Linked DNA regions of Homo sapiens: regions 2, 3, 4, 5, 6 and 7 are each linked to region 1. The links are contacts of gene promoters, found by promoter capture Hi-C in blood cells and fetal thymus (Javierre and others, 2016). All regions are on one chromosome and are shown on one strand. The core of a region is centred on a gene start or on the middle of the fragment in contact, and the rest is flanking DNA. Distances in the headings are between cores, read along the strand shown.

The links. The method cuts DNA at HindIII sites, captures the fragments that hold promoters and counts their contacts. A CHiCAGO score of 5 or more calls a contact.
Region 2: the fragment with the promoter of ABTB3 here is called in contact with the fragment with the promoter of POLR3B in region 1 in 1 of 17 cell types (fetal thymus); the score reaches 5.3 in fetal thymus.
Region 3: a fragment that was not itself captured here is called in contact with the fragment with the promoter of POLR3B in region 1 in 8 of 17 cell types (non-activated CD4 T cells, total B cells, naive CD8 T cells and 5 more); the score reaches 8.2 in non-activated CD4 T cells.
Region 4: a fragment that was not itself captured here is called in contact with the fragment with the promoter of POLR3B in region 1 in 4 of 17 cell types (monocytes, naive CD8 T cells, fetal thymus and 1 more); the score reaches 5.6 in monocytes.
Region 5: a fragment that was not itself captured here is called in contact with the fragment with the promoter of POLR3B in region 1 in 13 of 17 cell types (endothelial precursors, naive CD8 T cells, naive B cells and 10 more); the score reaches 10.1 in endothelial precursors.
Region 6: a contact is called between a fragment that was not itself captured here and the fragment with the promoter of POLR3B in region 1, in 16 of 17 cell types (endothelial precursors, fetal thymus, megakaryocytes and 13 more). The highest score is 25.4, in endothelial precursors.
Region 7: a contact is called between a fragment that was not itself captured here and the fragment with the promoter of POLR3B in region 1, in 6 of 17 cell types (fetal thymus, endothelial precursors, megakaryocytes and 3 more). The highest score is 12.3, in fetal thymus.

The regions. Positions count from the first base shown.
Region 1 is chr12:106,356,491-106,359,000 of GRCh38, forward strand. It overlaps POLR3B (RNA polymerase III subunit B), which reads left to right and starts at 1,258. Exons shown (of 28, transcript NM_018082.6): 1 at 1,258-1,461. The coding sequence starts at 1,390. The HindIII fragment of the contact is 8,226 bases long and covers 1-2,510 here.
Region 2 is chr12:107,317,177-107,319,686 of GRCh38, forward strand. ABTB3 (ankyrin repeat and BTB domain containing 3) reads left to right here and starts at 1,258. Exons shown (of 17, transcript NM_001018072.2): 1 at 1,258-2,510. The coding sequence starts at 1,765. RefSeq lists an enhancer at 1,760-2,479. The HindIII fragment of the contact is 5,525 bases long and covers 1-2,510 here.
Region 3 is chr12:107,100,831-107,103,340 of GRCh38, forward strand. No RefSeq gene overlaps it. Among named protein-coding and RNA genes, the nearest start is that of CRY1, 8.5 kb to the left of the region's middle. The HindIII fragment of the contact is 6,074 bases long and covers 1-2,510 here.
Region 4 is chr12:106,989,393-106,991,902 of GRCh38, forward strand. CRY1 (cryptochrome circadian regulator 1) reads right to left here. Exons shown (of 13, transcript NM_004075.5): 13 at 1,972-2,510. Among named protein-coding and RNA genes, the nearest start is that of MTERF2, 3.5 kb to the left of the region's middle. The HindIII fragment of the contact is 2,768 bases long and covers 1-2,510 here.
Region 5 is chr12:106,937,907-106,940,416 of GRCh38, forward strand. No RefSeq gene overlaps it. Among named protein-coding and RNA genes, the nearest start is that of TMEM263-DT, 16 kb to the right of the region's middle. The HindIII fragment of the contact is 587 bases long and covers 962-1,548 here.
Region 6 is chr12:106,920,922-106,923,431 of GRCh38, forward strand. No RefSeq gene overlaps it. Among named protein-coding and RNA genes, the nearest start is that of TMEM263-DT, 33 kb to the right of the region's middle. The HindIII fragment of the contact is 2,711 bases long and covers 1-2,510 here.
Region 7 is chr12:106,899,042-106,901,551 of GRCh38, forward strand. It overlaps the pseudogene EEF1B2P4. Among named protein-coding and RNA genes, the nearest start is that of TMEM263-DT, 55 kb to the right of the region's middle. The HindIII fragment of the contact is 1,902 bases long and covers 305-2,206 here.

The DNA of each region.
Region 1 (2,510 bases), core at 8-2,507:
TTGCAGTGAGCCGAGATTGCGCCACTGCAGTCCGCAGTCCCACCTGGGCGACAGAGCGAGACTCCGTCTCAAAAAAAAAAAAAAAAAAAAAAAAAAAGAAAATACAAGTACTGAAATTTAAGTAGCTCTTTAGTAAATAAGAATAATTAACCTGGTGCAAGGGTTCTACCTTTATGAGGGAGAAATTGGAAAGCATATATGTACTTACAAATTTTCATAACTTTTCTTATCGTTGTAAAATATACATAAAACTTAGCATTTTAACCCTTTAAAATGATGTACAGGTCAGCAGCATTAAATACATTCACACTGTTGTGCAACCATCACCATTCTCCATTTACAGAACTTTTGCATCTTCCCAAACCGAAACTCCGTACCCATTAATTAATTGGTGCATTTTGCCTTGTTTTTTCTAATAGGATTTTTCTTTCTGTTGATTTGTATGAGCTCATTTTAAATTAGAGAGACCAGCCCTTTGTCTTCTGCCAATTTATTTTTTATTAATTCTATTTGTTGGTGATTTTTTAAAATCTGTTCAGAAAATTAAAAATTTTCCGTGGAATCATAAAATCGTGTTTAGATTATAAAATCCTTTATGATTTGACTGTTGCCGTCTTGAAAGTCTTCAACATCTCAATGTTATGAATATCTGCACTTACATTTTCTTCTAAGTTTTTGTTAACATTTCAATATTTAATCCACAAAAGATTCACTTACATGTATTTTTTCCCCAAATGGGTAATCAGCTCTTCAAACATTATTTACTGGACAGGCCATCCTTCCCCTACTAACGTAAATGTCATCTTTTCATATTAAATTTCTCCATGCGCTGGGTATTTACTCCTACATCTTCCATCTAGTGCTTTTGAGAATTTTCAACACTCTTCCATTACACGCATGTACCATCATTTATTTAATCAATCTTCTATTGGTAGGCATTTGGGACGTTTCCTGCTCTTCCATACTAAACAATGCATAGAATTTTGGACTACATTAAATAATTCTCTGCCTCAGTGGTTCAAGTTGCGTAAATTATGCGTTTACACTTTTCTTCGGATTACTTTTAAAATGACAACCACTATGTTTTGCTGGTCTCAATTACCAGAGAATTGGCAAGAAACCTGACAGCTGGGGCTTAGGATTCCCTGCGCCAGACCTCCGAGCTACACCAGAGGGCGTACTTTCCTTACTCGGCCTCGGCCACATCCGGGTTCCACCGCAGATTCGGGCAGGGAGCGGGCGGAACCTTTCTACCGCGTCTCTAGCTAACACGCACGGCGGGGACAGTTTAGGCCTCCGCGCACCGTTCGCCGGGAGTCTTGCAGTTTGCTTGGTGCAGGGAAGGCGGGCGCGGAGGTTCTATCTGTTTCTTCCTCCTTCGTGAGCAGCATGGACGTGCTAGCGGAGGAGTTTGGGAACCTGACTCCGGAGCAGCTGGCGGCGCCGATCCCGACTGTAGAGGTCAGTGCCAGGCACGCAGGGAGCGTCAGGGACAAGGATGCGCCCTGAGGGGGCGTTGCCCGGAGTGCTCGGGCCGCCAAGGGGGCGGGCTGGCGGTTTGTGCGCATGCGCCGGGCTTCTGCGCATGCCCAGAGCGTCGCGCTTGCGAGTCTTTTTTCCAGAGCCGGCCTCCGCGTGCGCGAGTGAAGGCTGATCCCAGAGGAGCTGTCAGCCGCTGCGGGGGCCGAGAAGCCCCGCTGCTGGCTCTAGGGTTGGAGCTCTTCCAGCATAGGTGTGCGTGGGGAGGACTGACCCTCGCACTTACTGTGGGGGACGTATTGCATGTTTGCAGTCTTACAGAGGACACGGGGCCAGGGAGCTCAGGCCATTTGCATGAGGCACCACAGCCGGCTGTGGGGGTAAAACCAGATCGTCTGAATTCCAAGCTAGTCATCTTTCCTTTTAACTTGAAGTTCCAGTTTGGGTTGCAGGGGAATTTTAAACGCCCTCAATATTTACTAAAGAATTTGCCTGTGTGTTTTCTGGGGGAGAGACTCCACAGCTTTCATCAGCTTCTCGGAAGTTAAGGACAGCTGCCCCACAGCGAGCTGCCCAGTGAAGTGCGGCTGTCGACATATTTTGTTATCTGATAAGGCACATTTTGTAATCTCTCTGAGCCTCAAAATCTACACTGACGTGGAATAGGGAAGTGGAGACGTGGCCGGAGAAGATAGCAAAGGAGAGATTTCAGGGAAAGAGAACAGGATACTTGAAACCTCCTCGGCAAGACCATTGGATGTTTTTGAGGAAGGAAAGTAAATCCAGTAGTATTAGAGTGAAGAAAAATAGAGGAGAAGAGATAAAAGACAGGGTTAAGTAAGGGTCTTGATTATGAAAAGTTTCAATAAACATCTGACAGAGCTTGGACTTTGTCTTGGAGCAGAGCTTTTGAAGGGTTTAAGCAGGAAAGTGACATGATCAGTAAGTCTATCGGATTATAAGAACCTCCTTGGCTAGGCGTGGTGGCCTGTAATACCAGTAGTTTGGGAGGCCAAGGCGGGCGGATCACT
Region 2 (2,510 bases), core at 8-2,507, 960 kb after region 1:
GGTTTTGATTTGCATCTCCCGAATGATTAGTGATGTTGAGCATATTTGCATATACCTGTTGGCCATTGTTGAACATTCAAAGCAACAATTTAAAAGCATATCCTTACGTCCTTCATCAATTTACAACAAATATTTACTGAGCACTTATACTGTGCCAGGACTATGCATGGGAACCCCTAGCCCAGTGTAGAATCCAGACAAGTAACCAGGCTTTTGCAACCTAGTGTTGCAAGGGCCCAGAAATCAGCAACCACAGAAGGGGATAGAGGCAGTGGAAGCACCGAAGCCAGTCTTGAAACATCTGGGCCAGCTTCCTATAGGAGGGGATTCTAAGCTGAGAGACACAGTGTGCGGAGCTAGGAATCCCCATGTGTGTAAGATATGGTTTCTGCCTGGGTGGGTGGGGACAGACAAGTAGATGACACGATGCTATTTGACACAGGAATGCAGCTAAGCCATGCATATATATATTATATCTTTCTTTAGTCAGGAAAGAAGATTCTCCTTTGAGCAAATTTACTCCTTTTAAGAAGGCCGAGCTATTTGGAAAGATGCCCACCAGGATGGCAAAGTGGTGCTTGAGCCCTCCCTGCAGCACACGCCCAGGACTTTGAAGCAGGGACAGGGTCCTCCTGGCTACTGAAAGGAATCGAGTTAACGCGCCCTAGTGGCAGGTGGCGAATGGCCGGAGATCCGGCCTCCCAGTGGTGTCCACCGCCACGGGCCTCCGCTCGACAGGCTTATTTCCCTCCATGCTGGAGCAAACCCCGGCTGAAAGAGGGCCGCACTAATTGGTTTGCGTACCCGAAGTGGGAATAGAGAGGGAGGAAAACCATGTTTCAGGTGTTACGGGGGGAAAAAAGTGAAATGCGAACCGCAGGGGAGAGAGCGACCGTCAGGCAGACACCTTGTGAACCGCGGTGGAGAGCACACCTAGGTGGGGAGGTCACCGGCCCAACCCACCACCCTCCGGGAGAATGCGGGCAGGGACAGCAGCAGGGGGCAGCATCCACGTCTCTACGCTTGCAAGGGTTCCCCAAGTCCCTGGCCACTGCTCCCCACTTCCTGCAGCCTCGGTGTCCGCCGGGGGCGTGTGTGAGGGGCGGGGCCGCATGGGGAGGAGGGATTTAAAAAAAAAAAAAAAAAGCGAGGTAATTAGCATTCTCCGATTCCACTGGCTCTCCGCCGCCCCTGCTTTGCATACGCCCGTCCCACTGGCTGCCCGGGGTTTGCTGGGGTTCGGCAAGGTTTGCAGCCGCCACGGCCGCTGCTGCGCTCCGGTGCAGGGCAGGCTGGCGCCGAGCGAACCAGGGCCGGGAACTGGGAGCCGGGAGCCGGGAGCCAGCTGCCCGCGGAGCTGCGGCGGCGGCGGCATCTGGGGTGGTCTCAGTCCCACGAACACCGTGGCCGGCGCCCGGTGGCTACTGCGCCCAGCGGGGCTCAGGGAAGAGCGGTCTAGACACTTTTTATTTTGGAAGAAAGGGGCAAGCCCCGGCGGGAGCTTCCTTCCCGGCCTGGCTCGCTCCCCATTGCGCCCAGCTCCGGCCCGGACTCTGGAAGATGACTCCAGGGTCTGCTCTGTATATTCCAGCGGCGGCAGTTCCGGGAGGCAGCCGAAAGTACTAACAGTTGGTAGCAGCGGCTAGTGGAAAAGTGAGCCAAGGCGGCGCGGACTCGGCTCTCCCCGCGCCCCGCGGCACTCGCTGCTCCTCGCCGCTCCTTCCCTTTGGCTCCCAGGCGGCTGCAGCATGAAGTGGCGCAGCGATGGCCAGGAGAGGTAAGAAGCCCGTGGTGAGAACGCTGGAGGATCTGACGCTGGACTCGGGTTATGGTGGCGCGGCGGACTCGGTGCGCTCCTCCAACTTGTCTTTGTGCTGTTCCGACTCGCACCCGGCGTCCCCGTATGGCGGGAGCTGCTGGCCGCCTCTAGCTGACTCCATGCACAGCCGGCACAACAGCTTTGACACTGTCAACACTGCCCTGGTGGAAGACTCCGAGGGGCTGGACTGCGCCGGCCAGCACTGCTCGCGGCTGCTGCCGGACCTAGACGAGGTCCCCTGGACTCTCCAGGAGCTGGAGGCGCTGCTGCTGCGTTCGCGGGATCCCCGGGCAGGCCCGGCGGTCCCCGGCGGCCTGCCCAAGGACGCGCTGGCCAAGCTGTCGACGCTGGTGAGCCGGGCGCTGGTGCGCATAGCCAAAGAGGCGCAGCGCCTGAGCCTGCGCTTCGCCAAGTGCACCAAGTACGAGATCCAGAGCGCCATGGAGATCGTGCTGTCCTGGGGCCTGGCCGCGCACTGTACGGCGGCTGCGCTGGCCGCACTGTCCCTCTACAACATGAGCAGCGCCGGCGGCGACCGCCTGGGCCGCGGCAAGTCGGCCCGCTGCGGCCTCACCTTCTCCGTGGGCCGCGTGTATCGCTGGATGGTGGACAGCCGCGTGGCGCTGCGCATCCACGAGCACGCCGCCATCTACCTGACAGCCTGCATGGAGAGCCTCTTCCGGGACATCTA
Region 3 (2,510 bases), core at 5-2,504, 740 kb after region 1:
TTTGTTTGTTTACTTATTTATTCTCAGTCAACCTATGCCTGCTCCAACCCCAAATGCAAACTCCAGGAGGGCAGAGTATTTGTTATATCATTACTACTTGCTACAATGCCTTGTGCTCAACTCTTAATCCATTGTTCTTCTAGAGGCCCTGCTAACACCCAATTGATCACATTTAACACTGCATTTCATCCATATATTAGTTATCAATTTATTGCCTCTCAGCTCCAAATTCATCTTTCATTACTTCCTCTCTGTTAATGGAACCAGGCCCTGTAAGGATTTCATCTTTGCCACTGGCACGATGCTAAACATTCTCAGTAGAGAGCATTGGAGGGAAACTACAGGAGGAAGGGGCTTCTCTTCCTAGTTCCGGTCTTTCTGTTTTCTTTTTCTTGTACTTATTTTGCCACTGACAAAGATGCCTTGGAGAGGGACATGCGGTAGCACTCACTTCTGTCAGGTTTCACTGGCATCTCTGCTGGTGGATCCAGTGAGTCTTGCGGGCATCCCCACAGTTGGCTACCCAGCCTCAGTCCACCTGCATTCTGGGAAGGTGTTTCCTATGGCCACTCCCATCCATGTTTTCTGCCCTCTGGCCTCTACCTGGTGAATGTAGACCCCACCTGAGCTCAGGGAAACGCAGCCAACTTCTTCATTATCCAGTGGCTACAGCAATACATTCTCCAATGAGATCCGAGTCCCACCCTTAGAGAGGATTCCCTGCACTCCCACTTCCAAGTTTGTCCTTTGTTGGGTATTCTCCCTCAGTACTTTTGAATATTCTTTAGAATTCCCCCTACACTTTTTAAATCAATCATCTGTTATAATTGATCATTCTATTTATTAAATATTTCCTGTTTGATTTACTGTGTGGTTTCTGTGTCTGATTGGACACTGATTGATATAGTCCATGAACTGACCTAGTCCACCAGAATGTACTTGTGAACAGTTCTCTTGTTCTTACCCTTTTTCTTGACCAGGTACTTTTAGAAAGTGTAAATAGTTACAAATGTGGCAATATGATATTGTGAAATATTAGCCAATGTTTTTTCCCCACAGATCTTTTTCTGTCCTGTGACCATCCCCATGCAGGTCATTGGATGGGAGTCTTTTCACCTCAGAGGGGCAGAACTAGAGGACAAAGGTAGTCCAGCATTTTTTTGTTCTAAATTCAAGAGCCTTGGTCCGGATGTAAATCAGAAAAGATTTGCTGCTTCCCACTCCTTCTCATAACACTGTATAAAAATCCTCCAGGCTGGGGTGGAATATGAGGGCAAGGAAAATAAGATTAAAATTATCTATCTTAACTAAAGTAAGAACAAAATATCTCATCTGCCTTTATCTAGGATTAGCTCCAGATGTCTAGATAAGTTTAGGGTGATCTGAGGGTAGAGGAGATTTGTGCCAGCTTCCCATCTGAAATCTGGAGGCTGAGTCTCATGGAAATTCCATGCCACTTTGCTATGGCTCAGCACAGTAAGCCTGTATGGGATGCCACTGGGCCTCAGAAGCCTGCAGGCTAAGAGAACAGGTGGACTTTTCTAGACTTTTCCTCATCTTTAGAGGGCCACAAAAATTACCTGAAAGACAAAACCAGATAACTAAGGGGTTATGCCAAGGGGACAGCATGGTACAAGGTGTCACAAGAGGTTGTGGCCAAAGACCAGATGGGGACATGGGCATCTCAACACATGCCAGCCTGGAGAGATAACATTTGAAGACCAGACAGGATCATACATTCAGCAAATGACAGTGTAGACAGGTAAGGAATGTCAGCCAGATCAATACCCTTCCTTTGTAAGGATGTAATGTTCCTTAAGCATCTGGGGACAGAGATGCTATCCTGAAGAGAAGCAGGAGACATCTCCTTAGATGTTTTTCAGAATTGATTGAATTTCAACGTGAAATGATCTAGAATTGACTAGCCCAGTTTTCAACCAGTGAGCAGACTGAGACTTTAAAATAGTTTAACTCTAGTTTAGCTCTAGAAAAATGAAGGCAGGCTGGGCACGGTGGCTCATACCTGTAATCTCAGCACTTTGGGAGGCCGAGGCAGGCAGATCACCGGAGGTCAGGAGATCGAGACCAGCTTGGCCAACATGGCAAAACCCCATCTCTATTAAAAATACAAAAATTAGCCAGGTATGGTGGTGCGTGCAGGTGGTCCCAACTACACGGGAGGCTGAGGCAGGAGAATCGCTTGAATCCAGGAAGTGGAGATTGCAGTGGCTGAGATCATGCCACTGCACTCCAACCTGGGTGACAGAATGAGACTCCATCTTAAAAAAAAAAAAAAAAGTGAAGGCATCTGATTTACAGACTGAAAAATATAGTAGTTGCTACTAAATCCAGCCAAATGTTGTAGAAACTCCAAAGACCTGCACAAGCTATCTGGCACTGCGATCTGGCCTGCCTCTGCATCCTCTTCGCGGCCCATCCATCTCTCTGGCTTCTACTCTTCCCACTCTCTTCTTACTCACTCCTTGCTCTTCCTCAAGCAGGCCAGCAAT
Region 4 (2,510 bases), core at 9-2,508, 630 kb after region 1:
GTGCGCGGTGGCTCATGCCTGTAATCCCAGCACTTTGGGAGGCCGAGGCCAGCGGATCATGAGGTCAGGAGATCGCGACCATTCTGGCTAACGGTGAAACCCTGTCTCTACTAAAAAATACAAAAAATTAGCCGGGCGTGATGGCACGCGCCTGTAGTCCCAACTACTCGGGAGGCTGAGGCAGGAGAATCGCTTGAACCCAGGAGGCAGATGCCGCAGTGAGCCGAGATCGTGCCACTGCACTCCAGCCTGGGCGACAGAGTGAGACTCTGTCTCAAAATAACAACAAGAAAACTGAAATCTATGACCTCTTGTACGGTGATGGTAAATCTCAGGTCTATGAATTTCTCAACTCTGCACTGTACAACCAGGTCCAAAGAGTAGGATGTGAGGTACACTTACCATAAAAAACAATTAAAATATTACTTCACTTTAACAGTGGTGAAAAAAGAACGATAAAGCACAGGATTTTTTCTTATTCTTTTTCTCGGTAATGGATTTCCCACCTGCCGCCCCATCCCCGAGACAAGGTCTCACCCTGTCATCCAGGTTGGAGTGCAGTGGTGCAATCATAGCTCACTGCAGCCTCAAATCCCCTAGATCAAGCCATCCTCCCACCTCAGCCTCCCAAGTAGCTGGGACCATAGTGCACACCACCACACCTGGCTAATATTTTTGTTGTTTCCTTTTGTAGAGATGGGGTCCCAAGATGTTGTTCAGGCTAATCATTTTTTTTTTTTTGAGACAGAGTCTCACTCTGTCGCCCAGGCTGGAGTGCAGTGATGTGATCTCGGCTCACTGCAAACTCCGCCTCCTGGGTTCATGCCTCAAGTGATTCTCCTGCTTCACTTCAGTTTCCCAAAGTGCTAGAATTATAGGCATGAGCCACCCTGCCTGGTCTTCTTTACTTTTTTTTTATTTTTATATTGATTTTTTAAAAATAGAGATGGGGTCTTGCTAAGTCTCCAGGGCTGGTCTCAAACTCCTGGCTTTAAGTGATCCTCCCGCCTCAACCCCACAAAGTGCTGGGATTACAGGCAATGAGCCACCACACCCAGCTCAGATGAGGTCTTGATCTGTCCACCCAGGCTGGAGTACAGTGGCACAATCATAGCTCACTGCAGCCTTGACCTCCTGGGCTTCAGTGATCCTCCCACCTCAGCCTCCAAAAGTGCTGGGATTATAGGCGTGAGCCACCACACCTAGCCTCAGTAATGGAATTTATTGATCATTGTTAATTCACTATCCAGGATATTTTTAAAAATGCATATCATCTAAAATGTTATCGTTTCTGTATTTTTACTCAACTTTTATCTTCAGTTATCTTTAAATTATCATACTAAATATCTATCATGATTAATGATGGGAAAATGAAAAGCCACTGGTTATAATTCAGAATGGCAAGAACTAACCTACTAGAGAACACTAAAGGGATAATAACAATACTAATAAAAATAATGGCAGCTAACCAGAGCTGTGGCATACAGCTATGCAGACTGTGCACTGTACACGACAGGGGGTGACACAGCATGGCAGCCCTGTGGCTAACACTGAGTACCCTATCACATGCCAGCTCATAAGTATTTTACATGGAACTGAACTATAAAGCAGATACTACCCTCATCCCTATTTTATAGATAAGAAGAAAGAAGACATAGAAGGTTAAACTTGCTCAAGACCTCAAAGCTAATGAATGGCAGAAATGGGCATTTGACTCGAGAGCTCACTCTATTGATTGCTAGCCCATACTGCCTGATTTATGGTTACAAATGCCATTACTTGAAAAAAGTCCCTTTAGTTTTACCTCTTTCTTGCATATAATTTTGAAAAACACTGTTTAACTAAACATATGGTAGCTGTTCCTTCAAAATGATGATGTGGTTTATAGAATCTCTTTGTAATTTGTAATCATATATCATACAGCAATACTCTCTCCCTTACCAAAAAAGAAAAAAAAACACGTACACAAGATTTCATATTTGCATATACTTTAATAACAAGTTCATTTTAGTAATAAATGAACAAAGAAACAGAGACAGAGAACTTAACACATGATACTTCCACAAGTTTGGGTCTAAAAAGGTTTACATCAAAGTTTAAAACATATACTGTCTGTGTTAACAGAGGCTACAATACCAATTTGGATTACGCACATTATCTAAAACATTATTATCAAAGAGTGCAAAGTTAGATCAAACAACATCAAGAAAATTCTGTCCTAAAATTTTAACGTCTTTTAAGAAAGTCTAAAAACCTCCTTTTTTCCCACTGACTTCAAAACTTTGAGTTTTATATCAGAATATCAATTTGTCATTTTAACTTTACCATACATGAAAAATTATCAAAAATATATCGATGGGTCTATACTAATTGTGACTGTTTATATTTACATTAAGCAAATTCTCTTGCCAAGTTCTTTATATACAAATTACCAATTGTCCTCTGTGAAATTCATTAAAAAGTTAAAAACCACAGAAATGTCATTAGAAACAACATATTTCAATATGTAA
Region 5 (2,510 bases), core at 5-2,504, 580 kb after region 1:
GACTTAAATAAGTCAATGAATTCACTGAAAGTTTGATGAGTAATGGGAATATTTATGAAGAGGCTAAGTTGACCCTAAAAAGACTCCTTTTGGCCAGGTGGGGTTGCTCACGTCTGTAATCCCAGCACTTTGGGGGGCTGAGGTGGGCAGATTGCCTGAGGTCAGGAGTTTGAGACCAGCCTGGCCAACATGGTGAAACCCTGTCTCTACTAAAAACACAAAAATTCACTGGGCATGGTGGTGGGTGCCTGTAATCCAAGCTACTTGGGGGGCTGAGGCAGAAGAATTACTTGAGCCCAGGAGGTGGAGGTTGCAGTGAGCCGAGATCACACCACTGCACTCCAGCCTGGGTGACAGAGTGAGACTGTCTCAAAACAAAAAACAAACAAAAAAATCCAACTCCTTATAGTGGAAGGTTATTGAGTTATGCTTAATAATTGGAAAATTTACGACTTTTCCCTGCCATCAGCAGGAATGGGAGCATCAAGACAAGTTACAGAAAATAAAGAGTGCTGTATGTTTTATACATTTGGGTATAGTGTGCAAAATTTAGATTCTGCTACATGGAGCAACAATTTGATCAAAGACTTTCATGTTCCTTCACCTCCATGAGGTTCTAACAACCCCAGCCAATCCAATCAATTTCCAGGCTAAAAAGCCTAAAGGCAGATATACCTTCAATTGTCTATCACAATACAAACAGCTATCAGCTACCATGTATTGAGTACTCACTCTGCGAATGAACAGGATAATACATTATGTTACTCAATAAACACAATTTTAGCAGATGGGGACTATTAGTCTACATTTTTTGGGGGGAAAAAGGCCCAGTCAAGTTAAGGTACTTGATCAAAGTAGCAGAGTCCTCATTAAAATCTATTTAGCTATAGCACCTGGACTATGAGTCACCACACCATATTGTCCAGTCGTGTCACATTGAAACTCAGGTTTCATCTACTCAAGCTTTCATAAATCTTGAGAGGAGGAGAAGGGACATGGTTAAGACAACCCACCAGAGACCAACTAAGCCAAGGGAGTTGGAGGTGACATCTTTCATAAGCATAAAGGCACGGACAGATACATTCTTGTTCAAATTCTGTCACTCCTATAATCTGCCCTTCTCAGAAGCAACCAGCAATGGGACTAGTGGTATATTTTGGGACTACTGTCAACAAAAGGAGTCATACTCTGTAAAATATTTTAAGAGATTTATTCTGAGCCGAATGTGAGTGACCAATGGCCCATGATACTGCCCTCAGGAGGTCTTGAAAACATGTGCCCAAGGTGGCTGAGCTACAACTTGGTTTTATACATTTCAGGGAGAGATAAGATGTCAATCAACACATGTAAGATGTACATTGGTTCGTCTGCAAAGGTGGGACAACTAGAAGTGGGGGGATTAGGGGGTGAGAGGACTTCCAGGTCATAGGCAGATTCAAAGATTTTCTGACTGGCAATTGATTATTATCTAAAGACCTGCAATCAATAGAAAGGAATGTCTGGATTATGATAAGGGTTGTGGAGACTAAGGTTTTATCATGTAGATGAAGCTTCCAGGTAGCAGGCTTCAGAGAGAATAGATTGTAAATGTTTCTTTTTTTTCCTTTTCTTTTTTTTTTTGAGACAGTCTCGCACTGTCACCCAGGCTGGAGTGCAGTGGCACGATCTGGGCTCACTGCAACCTCCACCTTCTGGATTCAAGCGATTCTCCTGCCTCAGCCTCCTAAGTAGCTAGGACTACAGGTGCCTGCCACCATGCCCTGCTGATTTTTCTATTTTTAGTAGAGAGGAGTTTCACCATGTTGGCCAGGCTGGTCTCGAACTCCTGATCTCATGATCCGCCTACCTTGGCCTTCTAAAATGCTGGGATTACAGGCATGAGCCACTGCTACTGGCCTGTAAATGTTTCTTATCAGACTTAGAGAGTCTGTTCTGTCAGTCTTAAGGTCTCTGTGTTGATGTTAATGCTGGTCAGCTGTGACGCACGTCTGGCCATCCACTTCCCATCATGGCCTGAACTAGTTTTTCAGGTTAACTTTGGAATGGCCTTGGCCAAGAGGAGGGGTCTGTTCATATGGTTAGGGGGCTTAGAATTTTATTTTTGGTTTACATTCTCCCTCTTCTAGCTAAGATTTTCCAGAGGCAACATCAATGGCCACCAAACTTTTATTTTGTCCCACAACAATTGCTGAGGTGGCATGGCTGGCTGCCCTGGCTTTTCCTGTCCCTTGGTGGGACCCCTATGGTCAAGGGACTTAAGAGTCAAAAGACTTACAGCCAATTTAAATGTTCTAGGCCAGATGGGAATGAATGTGAACAGGCATTCACTAACCCTTAAAATTTTTAAGGTAATATAAAAGCCAACAAATGAAAAGCCAGAGGCGAGGTTACAAAATTGACTTATCTACCTTTAACCTCTATGTATTGAGCTACTGTGATCTTGGTTTTAGTTACAGATGAATTGCAATGAATTATACAAAACAATCATTATTAAAACCTTTTAAGCTAAG
Region 6 (2,510 bases), core at 6-2,505, 560 kb after region 1:
AGTGATAAGCAGAAAAGAGGCAAGAGGAAGGGGCTTTACTGGCCCAACCAGAAGCAAAAACTAAGAACCCATGACTGTATTCTGTCCCTTGGCACTCCTGGATGAGATAAATAAATGTTCTAAAGGAAAAATAGTTCCGGGAGAACAGGTAAGAAGGGAAGTTAGTTTGCACAGGGGGAACACAAGGCTTCCCTGAGGAGGTGATGCTTGGAAAGATTTGGATGGTTCAGGTACCCCTTTCCCCCACCTCACAACTAACTTTCCAAGCAATTCTTTGCTTCAAGGAGGGAAAGGCCTGCCCTCTTCATTCTCTTTCCAGTGCTCAGGTAGGCACAGAGACAGATCAGTTAGCCCTTGCCTAAGCAGATGAAAGAGTGGGAGTAAGACGTTATTCTTCTCGTATTGTGGGCACTCCAATACTTACCAGTGATTCTTTGGGGACCTTCTCTCTCTTGGCCTAAGGGAGAGGAAAACTTCTCACCCCAAACACTGCACCTTCACCTTCAACAGTAGAGGATCTAGGTGTCTAGCCTCAGGTGTTGGTGCTTGCCTCCTGTGGGGGAGAACTAGCTCCTACAGGTTTCAACTGAGATCCCAGTGTCAATTTCTGAGCAACCAAAAAAGGCCCCTCAGCAATTGCACCACAAGTTCTCAGTCCGAACTAATTGATGATAGCCTAATCAGCCTCTCTTCTTCCAGTTTCTCCTCACTTAATCTATCCTATAGTGGGCTACAAAGTCGGTCTTCCCAAGAATAGTTAAAATAATGCTATTAACTCGAAACTTTCAGCATATCCCTAAATAAACTAGTTTCAGTAACATTTTTATCAATAACTTGGATTTGCTGATACTTTTCCTTTGCTTTCTTTCCCAATTCCACCCCCTTCCCCCATGTACACATCACTCAGCTTTTATTTTTCATTCTTGCTTTTTAAATTTTTTGTTGTTGTTGTTGTTCTGAGATGGAGTCTTGCTCTGTCACCCAGGCTGGAGGGCAGTGGCGCAACCTCCACCTCCTGGTTTCAAGCGATTCTCCTGCCTCAGCCTCCCGAATAGCTGGGATTACAGGCACCTGCCACCACACCCGGCTAATTTCTTTGTATTTTTAGTACAGACAGGGTTTCACCATGTTGGCCAGGCTGGTCTCAAACTCCTGACCTCAAGTGATCCACCTGCCTTGGCCTCCCAAAGTGCTAGGATTACAGGCATGAGTCACCGCAACCAGCTAAAATTTTTAAATTTTTGTGGATACATAGTGGTGTATATATTTATAGGGTACATGTGATGTTTTGATAAAGGCATGCAATGTGAAATAATCACATCATGGAGAATGGGGTATCCATCCCTTCCAGCATTTATCCTTTGTGTTACAAACAATCCAATTACACTCTTTTAGCTATTTTTAATGTCCAATTATTATTGACTATAGTCTCCCCATTGTGCTATCAAATAATAGGTATTATTCATTCTATTTGCTCTCTGTACCCATTAACCAACCCCACCTCCCTCACTCCAGCCCCCCACTGCCCTTCCCACCCTCTGATAACATCCTTCTACTCTCTATGTCCATGAGTTCAATTGTTTGATTTTTACATCCCACAAATAAGTGAGAACATGCAATGTTTGTCTTTCTGTGCCTGGCTTATTTCACTTAACATAACGACCTCCAGTTCCACCCATGTTGTTGCAAATGACAAGGTCTCATTCTTTTTTTATGGCAGAATAGTACTCCATTGTGTATATGTACCATATCTTCTTTATCCATTCATCTATTGATGGACACTTGGGTTGCTTCCAAACGCAGCTTTATGATTATCAATTAACAGCCAATCTTGTATAATTTATGCCCCTACTTTCTCTCTCCCCCACCCATAGATTATTTTTAGGCAAATCCCAGATATAATATTATTTAATTCATCAACATTACAGTAGGTACTAAATTATATGGACTCTTTAAATCATAGCCACAATATCACTGTCACACTAAAAAAATAATAATTCCTTAGTATCATTAAATATCCAGTGAGTGTTCAAATTTCCCTTAGTGTCTTAAAATTCTTTTTAACAGTGATTTGTTCAAAATGGGATGCAAACAGGGTCCATAAATTCATTTGGTTGACGCTTAAATCTCTCTTTTTTCTAAGTTCCAGAGTACATGTGCAGGATGTACAGATTTGTTAAACAGGTAAATGGAGAAAAGTTTTGAAATTTTTGAAATCCCTTTTAATCTATAGATTCCCATTCCATTTCCTTGTTTTCCTTGAAGTTTATTTGTTGGCTAAATGGGTCATTTTCCCCATAGAACTTCCACAGTTTGGACTTGTTGATTGCTTCCTTGTGCTGTTGTTTAACATGTTTCTCTGTCTCTGTAGTCTTACAAGATCCGGAGGTTTGATCAGACCAGTTTGAAATTCTCTTTCATAGGGAGAGGTATGTACTTCCATCGGGAGGCATTTATTAATAATACTTGCTTGTCTTTTTCTGTGATGTTAGTGGCCACTGACGATCATC
Region 7 (2,510 bases), core at 6-2,505, 540 kb after region 1:
ACCTCTGGCACTGACCAGCTTTCTGAGGTAAGCATGTCCACGAGCAGTGTCAGTCCTGGATCTGCAGGCCCTTGATTGGTGATGAAAACTTGCCCTTCCAGCGTCTCACTGGAATCTCACCAACACCCTGGAAAGCAAGTTGGGATCCTTGGCCCCGCCATCTGCACATAAGAAAACGAAGTCTCAAGGAGGGAAAGTGCTTGCCGAGGGTCACACAAATAACAAATAGAAGAGACAGTCTTCATCTCCAGGAGAATCCCTTCCTTCCTTTTCCATTCCATTGGCCTCGGCGAATGGGGAGAGAAGCTTTCCTTCATGAAAACCCCATAAGGAAAGCCTCTAGGAGGATGTAGCCGCATCTTCTGGGGACCAGCACTTCCCACAGAGGTTGCTGGGCACCAACTCTAAACCAAATTATATCTGTTAGAAAGCAAGAAGCGGCCAGGTGCGGTGGCTCATGTCTGTAATCCCAGCACTTTGGGAGGCCGAGGCAGGTGGATCACGAGGTCAGGAGATTGAGACCATCCTGGCCAACATGGTGAAACCCCGTCTCTACTAAAAACGCAAAAATTAGCCAGGCGTGGTGGCGGGCACCTGTAGTCCCAGCTACTCAGGAGGCTGAGGCAGGAGAATCCCTTTGAACCCGGTAGGTGGAGATTGCAGTGAGCGGCGATCACACCACTACACTCCAGCCTGGGTGACAGAGCGAGACTCTGTCTCCAGAAAAAAAAAAAAAAAAAAGCAAGGAGCAGAAACCTCACTCAGTCTGGCTTATATAAGAAGCGAATCTCACAACATCTGGAAGCCCAGAGGGTTGATCTAGCGGCTCCACGCTGGTAAGGAAGCATCGCTCTGCTCCATCACTGCAGAGAGAGCTTCATCCCGAAACCCATAGCCAAATGGCAGAAGTTCCAAGCATAACATCCAGACATGACAATAGCCAAGAAGATCGCCTTTCCCTGCAACTCCCTCTTAAGAGTAAGAAACCTTCCCAACAGACCTCCTGAAGACTCTTTGGACAGAATTGGGTCATCTGCCCATTCCTGAACCAATTATCAAGGGAAATGGGATCACCCTTAGTTAATAAAAGCCTTTACATGGAACTAGGGCTCAGGTCAGCTCTCCCTGAAGCCCATGGTGAGGAGTGGAGATGTGAGAAAATAGGATTCTGCTGGAAAGAAAGTTGTAGAAACAAATTTTGGATATACAACCAATAGTGACCACTGAACCAACAGCATCCACTAAAGAGGTTTGAGAACTACATGGCTCTGACTATGTACCTGTTGGAATGGCTAAAATAAAGATGAAATGTGCCCCCAAAATGAGACAATGCATATTAAGTGCTTAGCATAACACCAGGCACATGGTAAGCAATCAATAAATACTATCTGTTATTATTATTGTTATTATTATTACCGAGATGGAGTTTCACTCTTTGTTGCCCAGGCTGGAGTGCAATGGCGTGATCTTGGCTCACCGCAACCTCCACCTCCCAGGTTCAAGTGATTCTTCTGCCTCGGTCTTCCGGAGTAGCTGGGATTACAGGCATGTTCCACCATGTCCAGCTAATTTTATATTTTTAGTAGAGATGGGGGTTTCTCCATGTTGGTCAGGCTAGTCTCAAACCCCCAGCCTCAGGTGATCTGCCTGCCTTAAGCTCCCAAAGTGCTCGGATTACAGGCGTGAGCCACCACGCCCGGCCAAGAGTCTGCATTTCTAACCAATCACAGCTGAAAGCAGTGATACTGGTCTGCAGACCACACCTTGAGAAGCAAGGCTCTAGGTCTCAGGGAAAGCATGAATCAGAGGAATTGGAGAGAAATGGAGGGGAGGGGTTCTCCCACAGGTGGTGGGAACAAATCTAGAGTGTAATGTTCCAAAACTGTTATCAGGTCTGCATTTAAAGTTGGTGTCACTTAAGAAACATAGGTTACAAAATGACTGGTTACCACATATTAACAAGAATTAGACAAGCCTGGACTATACTATTGTGATTAAAACAACAAACAAATAGGTAGGGTGTTTTTAAAACACTCAATTGCTCTGCCGTCTTATTAAACACATGGCCTTATGAGGTAGATTTTAGCATTATCCCCATTTTACAGAGACTTCGATGAATTTGCCCAAAGTCACCCAATCAGCATAAGTGACTAAAACCAGATCAAATTTCCAGCTTGTCTAACTCTACATTTTTTTTAATCTTTCAAGCTTTTATTTAAGTGCAATGATCCAGAATGGAATTTAGATCTTGTTGAAAGCAGCCACATCCATGGGCTATACATAATCCTGAAAAGCAGCGATCTGCTCCTCCAGCATATCTGTTCCAAATTTATCATCTTCAACCACACACTGTATTTGAAGTTTCTTAAATCTGTATCCCACTGGAACTAGTTTAGATGAGCCCCAGACTAAGCCATCTGCTTGAATGCTTCTGACTCACTCCTTTCATTTTGCCATATCTGTCTCATCATCCCAAGGTTTCATGTCTAAGATGGAAGACTTGGCAACAA